Regions from separate parts of the Homo sapiens genome. Here region 2 is linked to region 1. The links are contacts of gene promoters, found by promoter capture Hi-C in blood cells and fetal thymus (Javierre and others, 2016). All regions are on one chromosome and are shown on one strand. Each heading gives the region's core, a stretch centred on a gene start or on the middle of the fragment in contact. The rest is flanking DNA. Distances are from core to core; before and after follow the strand shown.

What was found. The method cuts DNA at HindIII sites, captures the fragments that hold promoters and counts their contacts. A CHiCAGO score of 5 or more calls a contact.
Region 2: a contact is called between a fragment that was not itself captured here and the fragment with the promoter of SUCLG1 in region 1, in 3 of 17 cell types (M1 macrophages, M2 macrophages and M0 macrophages). The highest score is 9.2, in M1 macrophages.

The regions. Positions count from the first base shown.
Region 1 is chr2:84,457,164-84,462,303 of GRCh38, reverse strand. It overlaps SUCLG1 (succinate-CoA ligase GDP/ADP-forming subunit alpha), which reads left to right and starts at 3,024. Exons shown (of 9, transcript NM_003849.4): 1 at 3,024-3,131. The coding sequence starts at 3,035. It also overlaps a transcript of DNAH6 not described here. RefSeq lists a silencer at 2,478-2,667 and an enhancer at 2,848-2,987. The HindIII fragment of the contact is 6,917 bases long and covers 1-3,691 here.
Region 2 is chr2:84,837,129-84,842,268 of GRCh38, reverse strand. It overlaps TRABD2A (TraB domain containing 2A), which reads left to right. Exons shown (of 7, transcript NM_001277053.2): 3 at 262-408; 4 at 2,946-3,120. Among named protein-coding and RNA genes, the nearest start is that of TRABD2A, 41 kb to the left of the region's middle. The HindIII fragment of the contact is 2,082 bases long and covers 2,121-4,202 here.

The DNA of each region.
Region 1 (5,140 bases), core at 1,775-4,274:
TGCATTCTTTTGAGTCCTTGATCAGCCTTCCACTGAATACACAATTTAGTCTGGCTCAGTGAATCTGCATTTTTACATAAACAATAGGGCAGAGGGAGCAATCAGATATGCATCTGTCTCAGGTGAGCCTCAGAGTGATGACTGAGTTCTGCCTGTCCTTTATCCACCAGGAATTTCCTGTGGGCAAATTGTGAGGGAGGTATGTAGCTTATTATCTTTGTAGCTATATTATTTAGGAATAAAATGGGAGGTAGGTTTGCCTCAGGCAGTTCCCAGCTGGACTTTTCTCTTGGCTTGATGACTTTGGGGTCCCGAGATTTATTTTCCTTTCACACCCTCATACAGTGAATTCTAGTCTTTTGCTTATCTGAGCCGGCTGGGATGTGGGGGTGAGAATTCAAAGACAAGTTTGGCCACTTCCTATCAAACTTCAGAGAGAAGTAGCTCCTAGACTGCCCTCCTTATGGATGTGGAGGTAAGGCTTGTTGTCTTCAGCTTTAGAGCTTTAGACAAAGTTTTGAGACAAATAGAAATATCCTATTCTAATTTGGTTACTCACTTTAGTTAAAACCTTTAAAACATGATCCTGCCATGTAAAAAAGACAGTTCTTTAATGATAATAACTACCATTATCGACTATTTGGTACAAGGTGACAGTAGCTTTATATACTAAATGTATTAAATGTTCACAACACTCTTATGAAATAGGGAGTTTCATACCCATCTCAGTAATAAAACCTGAAACCCAGAGGTCATGTAGCCAGTGGCAGAGTTGGAATTTGAACCCAGACCTGTCTGATTTCCAAACTCAATCTGCATACAAAGATGAGTGGTGTGGTATTGACTAGTGTGGTTGTCCCCTACCTATGAGCTACAGAATTGAGGTAGGGGTGTTCCCGGACCAAACTGAGGGTTGGGCTGCTATTTTTTGTGGCCCAATAATGAGATGTAGATGAACTGGGGAGGAAGAGAGTTTTTATTTCTGCAACCGATTACAGGGAGAAGGCCTGGAAATTATCATCAGACCAACTTAAAATTACAGTTTTCCAGAGCTTATATACCTTCTAAGCTATATGTTTACTTGTAAGTGTGCATTTATCTAAAGACATAAGTGATTAACTTCTTTTAATCTATAACTAAGGTCTGAGTACTGAAGACCATCCTCTGAAGCCTCAATAAATTTACTTAATCTACATGGGTTTAGGTGCTGGGGTGATTACCCTTATCTTATCCCCTGCTAAATCACAGAGGTTTGGAGAGTTCTTTCAGACCTCCAATAAACTTGTTTGTGGAGGCCTGGGGAGTTTCTTCGGACCTCCAATAAAACTTGTTTAATCCTAAATGGGTCCTGTTAAGAATTTCTTCATTAATTTGTCATGCTTCAAGGCCCAGGAAAGGCCTAGGCAAAACCCTTGGTGGGTTTCTGTTACATCTCAGCCTTTGTATAAGGGCACTGGCTTTTAATATTTAACTTAACCACTCAGTCAGCACTGAAACATTGTTATGGAGGCCTGCGTTAGTGAGACCTGGTCTGCCACAGGGGTGCAGTTATTACAAGAGGTTGAAATATCCTAAGTCCATCAAACATTGCCTGTGGATCCAAAAAATAATCTATATACTACTATTTCTCCTATATATATCAATTCAATTCAACGATGAGTTATTTGTGTAAGGCATTGTTCTAGGTGCTGGGGATACTCCAGGATACAAAACAAACAAAAATCCCCGTCTTCATGGAAATACAAATTTTCATTAAAAGTGTACTGAAATTATATTTTTTGTCATCATGCATTTTATCAATTAAATGAAACTAAACATATAACTTATCAAGCGACAGCTCAGGAATAATTTTGCTATTTAAAATAGCAAGGGATTTTCTATTTATTTGCCATAAAAATGTCCATTTTGTTATAATGGATATATCTGGAAACCACTGATACTATTTAACTCTGAGGAATTTAGTTATCACAAGAACATGATCCATGAGGGAGGAGTTTATTTGCAGTGAAGTCCAACCTGTTAATGACAATATTTGGATCATAAAGGAAGTATTGGGCAATCTCCTGGGGTAATCCCACTCATCCATCCCACAGCTCAGTGCCAATTATAATGACTACCTAAGTAAATTAGGATTGCAATTTTATTGACAATTCTGATGAGGAATCTCAGGAGCACGATTTTCGGCAGAGACGCAGATTACTTCATCTCTTGTTTACCTTTTGACTCTGGGACTCTCTGAGGTTCCTTCTAAAGCTGTTACAGAAGAGGGAACTGTTTGTCCAATCAGGGAGCAAAGTCACATTTGACCTCGAATTTCAGCCCTTAGGATCCTCAGGGAATAAACACTCATGCACTTAGTGCTAGTCAAAGACTGCATGATTATTTAACTAAAAAAATTCACATTCCAAGAAGTTAACTGTCAGTAAGATAGGTTTTGGTCTTTCTCATCACATCTTTCCCTTCACAGGCCACCAGTGCCAGTTCGAATTCCCGTCCCCAGCGGCAACCCTTCCGGGTCCAGGCACAGGTACGCGGTGAGAAATATTATTCTCTCTAATAGCAAACGAGGAAAACGAAGGGGGAAGGAGATGGGCCTGGGATACAAAGTTCTGGCACTGCTCTTCGCACCTCACCTCGCTGTTTCTTCCCTCCTAGTCTTCAAGTCCCTTGTCTCCCCGGTCTCACTGCCGCTCTTCCCTCGCTCCCTTCCCGCCGCCTCACTCAAAAGCTACGAACCAGTCGCGGCCGTCAGACTACATTGCCCACAATGCCACGCGCTGGCCAGTCTCGCGTGGGGTTTTCCCTCAGCTGCTGTTATAATTAATGTTAATCAAACCCACATTTCTAGGAAGGAGCCGAGTTATTATCTGCCTCTCCGATAGGATGCCTCTTTGTCTTCACCTGCCATTCCCGCTGTTTCGTGAAGAATCCTCTGTAAAGGGAAATTTGTTCAGGCGACTGCTGTGGCCACCCTCTGCCTCCTCCGGCCTCTGCCCCTGGGAGGTCCCCGGGGGCCTGGGAGTGTCATTGGCGTATGACCGCAACCCTTGCCGCTGCCGCTGACATCGCTACCATGGTCTCCGGCAGCAGCGGCCTCGCCGCCGCCCGTCTCCTGTCGCGCAGCTTCCTCCGTGAGTCCAGCCAGTACTGTCTTCCTGGCGCCCGCGGGTTATTGGCCCCGCCGGACCCAACCTCCTGGCCCAGGCCGCGGCTGGGCCCTCAGGGCTGGACCTCGGCGGGGGCCTGGGAGCCGCTTGGGATTCCGGCTTCGAGTCGGGGACCCCTACGGTGGAAGGAGCTTTGCTGGATACGTGGGGCGGGGGGCATGACTTAGGCCGCTGGCAGATGGAGATATTGGGTGGCTGAGCCAGGATTCGGGTCCGGGAGCCCTGCAAATTTGGGAGCTTGCTCTCGGCCCCGCGGTGACAAATGACAGGATGGGGGTGGCGTCTAGACTGGCCTTATTTGGAGTTGGGGATGAAGAGGTCCAAGGTGAACTTGGTGGGGAAGGTAAGGGTCTGGGTTGAGAGGTAGAGGAAGAGTGTCTCAGTAGGAAGTTGGGGGATGAGGCTGTCCCTAGTACGGAAAGGTCCTGCACTTCGAATTCCCCCTCTGCAGGATTGTATGTCAGGGAAAGATGGTTTCTGCACACGGAGTGGGGTCGGCATAGCCGCATAGACTACTAGAAGCTTATGGTTGGCTGGGACCTAAACCAGCTTATTTGCAGTGTCTCCACCAGGCGATTTGTGGACACATCCGTTCCCGAAAACTTAGTACCCAAGGTTGCTAGTCTTTGAGACACGCTGACTATGGAAAATTCTTGCCATATTCAAAGTCTCTGTGCTTGTCAGGTAGGTTATAGTAGAAAGAAACTTTGGAATCAGCCACATCAGGGTTTGAAGTCTGGCTAGTCCCTTTTCAGTCTGTGTAATAACCCTGGACACTTAATCTGTTTTTCAGTGTTTCCAATCACATGAAAATATTAACACATTTTAAGGGGCCTGAAGCACCATCACTTGTAAGGTGGACCATTATTTTGTTTACCACTAACAATGAAGAACGATTGCTTATTAAAACTGTGACACACCAGTGGTTGTCACATGTATCCTGGTTTTTTAAAAAGTGAAAAAAAATGTGCATTTTAGCAATGATGATGTACAGGATGATCTGGGTTCACTGCAGAATAAGTGGAGCAATTTATATAAAGCATCTCGTATGTAACAAACACTCAAAGTTAGTTTTCTTTTTCCGCTTTGCTCTTAATTCTGCTTGTACTGAATATTTTATGAGACTTAATTCCTTTCTTGAGAAGATTACATTCTGAAAGTGTACATTGATGAGTGTGCACTCAATAGCTAACACTTAGTTGCCAATCACTTGAGGACAAAGGTCTGGCTAGATAACGTTAGCAAGTATGAAATGGTTTGTTTGGTAAAGCTTTCTGGAGATTCTTGAGAGTGTTGTAGGCAGAAGGACAAAAAGAATTCATTATACCCAGTAATCACTCAGGTCAATAAAGTTTGAGCACCAAGAATGAAGTATATTGGATATGGTTTTAAACCAGCTTAATTTGAATAGATAGTGGGTTAGAATGTAGAAGATCAGATGTGCAGCACAGCCACTGTGGTGGGAAACCCTAGGAAGAAGTTGCCCACCTGTGTCTTTCGCTTCTGTGGTCTTGCTAGTCTGAGGTTCTGAAAGATCCTAGCCTCAGGTAGGTCTGCTGTCTAGAAAAATCTAGAGAATAAAGGAAGAGTGTCTAAAAGATCTAGTTCCTTACTCCACCCTTAGCAGTCCTCTCAATCCTCTTCCCACAGAACTGGAAGTGTGTTCTTCCTAGACTCCCAGGATCATTTGGCCCTAGAGTGACCATCTGGTTTAGTTTTGTTACTGGAGTGGGCTTGAATTATTCAAGTCATGTGATTAACTTGTTATTACGGGTCTGAGATTTAAACCAAGATGTATTCTATATTAAGAGGGGTTACAGACAACAATGCTTAATGTGTAAACACCTCTAAATTCACAAAACTCTAACTCCTCTTTCCCATGCCACATTTCCGAGCCCATTTTCACTCCCACTAGAAAAATAGCAGCTACAACATCACCTTGCAAACTTTTTTTTTAAAAAGGGACCAGAAAT
Region 2 (5,140 bases), core at 1,912-4,411, 380 kb before region 1:
ACTCATGGAAGAGTTCCAGGTTGTCTGTGTCCTCCATAAGGCAGTTCCCTAGGTGTGTCTGATTGGGGCTGATTTGGGAAGGACTGTTCTCCTTTTCTTTGGATGCTGTCCAGGGATTTGTGTTCCCTTTTTTAAGTAGCACTATCCACGTCCTTACATAACGAGCACAAAGGTGAAGGTATTTCCAGCCATGGACAAAAGAAATAAGATGGCAGCAAACAGTTGCCTTGTTAGTGAACTTAAAAGAGACCTTTCTTTTAGGTCATCTTTGCTTTGAACCAGACCCTCCTGCAGCAGGAAAGCCTGCGAGCAGGCAGTCTTCAGATCCCCTACACGACGGAGGATCTCATCAAACACTATAACTGCGGGGACCTCAGCTCCGTCATCCTCAGCCATGACAGCTCCCAGGTGAGCACCCTTTCCCCCTGCCAAGCTCAGCACACATTTAATTATAGGAATAAAAACATTACCTGGCAACATGTACATCCTGTGTACAAAGGATTGAGGTCATGAGGGCTCTAGAAATAAAGTGGGCAGATTTAGATGTCATTGAATGAGGCACTACAGCGAATGAAAGCTTTACAAACCTTGTAAGAACAGAGAGGGGCATTGATGAGGGTTAATTCCAGTATTCCAGCCAAAGGATGAAGCTTCAAAGGATTTAACAGTAGGCCACATGAACCAGCCTTGAGGAAGGGAAGGGTTCTGAGTCTGATGGCCTCCTGGCTGACTTAGGTCATACTTTTGCAAAATGATGGGGCAGAACTTTGACTGCAGCTTCAGTGGCCTCTAGGAACATGTGAACATGATATAGCTGTGTATTCACAGAATGCTTACAGGCTTAGGGCATCAGAGCTGGGAAGGCTGCTAGCATTTGCAGACGTGGATCATTGCATCCTGTGGTATTGCAGGATGAGTGTGGCTGAGCTGGTGGATTGAGTGTTTGCCCAGCTCAGGCCTTACCTGTGGGCCATTGAGTGGAAGGAAGTAGCTGCTCAGCCTCAGAAGATCATGGTCTCCTTCCAGGAGGGAAGTGGTACGGATCTTTGTTATGCTTTTATCAACAGGCTTCCCATGGGACAAGCCATGGTGCCTTCGCCTCCTCTCTAGGACTACATGCAAATAGCAAACACCAGCTAAACTTCTGAGGTAGGGGAGTGTGTTGTTTCCCCCACCCAGGACTGGTGTCCACATGCATGAAGACACTGGAGAGGGGAGACAGGAGCTAGTGGGTGTGGGTGATGCTGTACAGGTCTATGTTAAATCTGGGGACCCAACCATAAGGAGACATGTGTGAACATGAGAGCTGAAGGAGGAATAGCAGCAATGGGGAGAAGGACAGTACAGGCTGAGTGCAGCATCAGCCCAGAAAGGTGACATTTCATTAATGACAGAAGCCTCAAAAGATGTAAGGAGCATCCCCAAAAATCTAGAGGAAAAAAAAGTCAAATTGAGACAAAGTGAAGCAGGAGGAAAGGGAGAACAAGAAACACATTAAAGAAGGAAAAATAGAGTTGGTGGTGGTGATAAATCTTACCTGCACTCTTGCTGAGGGTAGGGAAGGGGGGAGAAAAGTCAAGATCAATTGGGAAATTGACATTTGAAGCAGCAGAAAAAAGTTAATGTGGGCGGAGGATTTGGTCATTACGTGGGCAAATGGTGAGGCTGATGGAGCAGATAATACAGATGTCTTATGCATTTTTCTCCTGTGGCTTTCCCATATCTGTTCTGCCCACAGGGCCCCTACAGGAGGTCAGGGAATGTGCTGTCACTGTGAGTGAGGGCCAGGCTGGCCAGCAGGGAGTGGTGCAGGCTTTGGGTGATGTTTGGAATTTAGAAGGTGGAGCAGGATGTCAGAGGGAGGTCACCCTGTGTATCTGACGCTGCCTCTGTAGAGAGGCTGGTAGAGAGGGGGGCTCTGCTGAAGAGAAGAGATTTTGGGAAATGGGCAGGGGATCTTACATAAATGACATGATTAAAAAAAAAGATGACAGAGTAGAAGATGAAGGCTGTCGATTTGAAAATGAAAGAATATCATTTCGAGGCCGTCGCAAAAGGAGATCTGTTATCCATAAGATGGAAGTTAATGCTGTCACAGAGTCTGAGGACTTTGGAAAGCTTTTTGAGAGGCTACTGGAAGCAGCAGCAGCAGGCAGGGTAGATACTGACCAAGATAATGGGTAACATTGTTAAGTCCCTGGGTGGAGGAGAGAGCATGCACCCAGGGGGAGGAGTGGGAGGCTGAGGTTTGGGAAGCCAGACAGCTGAGGGGGTGGGGAGAAAACACAGAGTGCCAGCCTTACCTGTAGCTCCTGGGCTGCAAGAACCACGCTGATTGTCACAATTTTGATGCACTTTCATCCTGTTATTAGCCAAAATACTGAAACTGGCTAACATGTATACCAGAATCAGTGAAATATTTGCCAGGAGGGCAAAGAACATTGGGGAAAGCAAGAGAGAGAAATAGGAAGTGGAGAAATAATGAAAATGTAAAGTAGAGGATTTATAAAACATTTAAGTGTTTATACAAATTTCATGTTTTCGGTAATAGAATCTAAAATATGTAACTATATAAGACTATTTTTATAAGAAAAGCATGTATGAATCACACAAGTTAAAACTATGGATGTACTGTGCAAAGACAGTGTCCTTTTTTTTTTTTTATAAACACACGGCATCAGACAGAGCCATTTAACTAAAACAGAAGTGCAGTTGTAAATAGTGTAAGAGTTCATTCAATGCACTTCACTTAATATTTTTTTCACTTTGGTTACAGGGAATGTGATAGAGTGGGAAACATAGCAGACAGGAAACTCCAAGAATGGTGTCACTCTTCTCTTGACAACGTCTTGACCATCTAGGTTGGGGGATTTGATGCTCCAATGAAGTAACTTTGTTAATAACTCTGTTGCCCCTTATTTTTTTTTCTCTTTATTTTGGTGGAGGTTCCCAATTTTATTAATGCCACGCTACCACCTCAGGAGCGCATCACTGCTCAGGAGATTGACAGCTACTTACGCCGGGAGCTGATCTACAAGCGGAATGAGAGAATAGGGAAGCGGGTGAAGGCCCTTTTGGAGGAGTTCCCTGACAAAGGCTTCTTCTTTGCCTTTGGAGCTGGTGAGTAGTGGGTCACCTCTGATTAGCCTCTGAAATCTGAGGCTTCTCCCAAGAAGGGAATGTTGAGGTGAGCCCCTGCTTAGGGCCTGTGTTAGTCATGAAGCGAGATGAAGGGAGTGACACCTTCCTTGACTTATTTCAGTTGCAGAGTGGCTCCAGCTGGGGATGGAGCATCCAGCATGGTTGAAATGTTGCTGGATGAGCTGGTGCATGTGACATCACCCATAGCTCTCTCCACACATAAGCCAGCTGGGAAAACATTTTTGTCCTCTGAATTTCATACTTAATCCCAACTTCTTTCTGGTACTTTTCACTTTGTAAACTTTCACTACAAATATGTTTGTCTTTACTCTTCTACCTGACAATGAGCCTCCCAAGTCCAAGGCCTGGGGCTGATACATCAGCTGTTATTGACTGTTAGCAGCACACATGGAGACAGAATAGGACAATTATTTTCTTTTGTGGGCTTCTTGAAATAAATTCTCTCCCCCGGAGTGACTCTGACACAGAATTCTTTGCAGCCTCAGGAAATGAGGATAGAAATGCCAGAGGCTGGACAGTATGCAGAAAGATCATTTGCTGGGCTGGGCTTTGTTTCATATTTTTCTGCTAACTTCATAAACTTAAACAAGTCATGTCACTCAGTTTCTTTACCAGTAAGATAGGGGGTTGGAGAGAAGCAATTCTGAAATGGTGGAGTGAGGGCCTCCAAAAACCTGTTCTTCCATAGCAGCAATAAGAACACTGGAAAAAATGGTCAAAATCAACTTTTCCACAGCTCTGGAAATTAATTAAAGGCTTGCAACAATCCTAGAAGTGTTTATTTAAGAAAACTGGATGAATTTTGATAGAAGCAGTGGGCTTTGTGGCATTTTAACTTGTTCTGTTTTTATCTCCCTTTTCCCAGCTTCACAGTAGCCTTGAAAATCAGGAGCCTTGAACTACAGTAGCTGTGAAAACTGTTTGCCTAATGGTTACTGGAGGGGACAGAATGGGTTCAAAGTTCCTCCAAAGCTCCATCCTTAAAGAATCATCACTATTTGACATGTCCAATAGTTCCCTGAAATTTCCATTCCCAAGCTTGTCTTCATTTGACCTGACTCAGAGCTTGCTCTGTGTGAATAGCCCTATTCTTAGGGTGTGTGTTGAAAACAATCAGTAGCAGCTGTTTAACATCATAGTTGCTGGAAATAGCAATATTAATTGAAGCTTACAAGGGGCTGCCCAAAAAACTTAAAAGCAAAATCCCATAGGGGGTATAGAAAAGCTCTAAAATATTCCTAGAGAGTCACATGCATGAGAAGAGCTGTGCACATGCCCAGGAAAGACCTGAGAAGGTCCTAATCTCTCACCTCTGGCTGATCTTGAGGCTCTGTGTAAGCAGAGTGTGAAAGCTAAGGCAAAGTCATAAATTGCCTGTTGAAGCATCAAATACATGCCCCCAAACTCACACAGCCCCTCTGCAAAGGTTGGGAAACTTGCAAGGAATTTAAGGAAATCTCTGTTCAGTCATTAGCCAGCCACTAAACTAACTGAGCAGATCCTTCAGTGATCACACACAACAAAGAATACAGACTTTACAGACTTAGTCCTAGAAAATCACTACACAAACAGCAACAACAATGCACCTGGGACTAAGGGAGAGGAGATGAGTTCCAGAGTTGGTATATTATTTAAATGTCTAGTTTTCAATAAAAACAATTATAAGACACAGAGCAAAACTAGAAAGTATGGCCCATACCCAGGGAAAAACAAGCAACCAATAGAAGCTGTCCTTGAGGAAGTTAATATCTTGGACTTACTAGAAAATGACTTTAACACTAGTTATTATAAATATGTTCAAAAAACTAAAAGAGGCCAGGTGCGGAGGCTCACGCCTATAATCCCAGCACTTTGGGAGGCTGAAGCAGGTGGGTCACCTGAGGTCAGGAGTTTGAGACCAGCCTGACCAATATGGCAAAACCCTATCTCTACTAATAATACAAAAATTAGCCAGGCGTTGTGGCGCACACCTGTAATC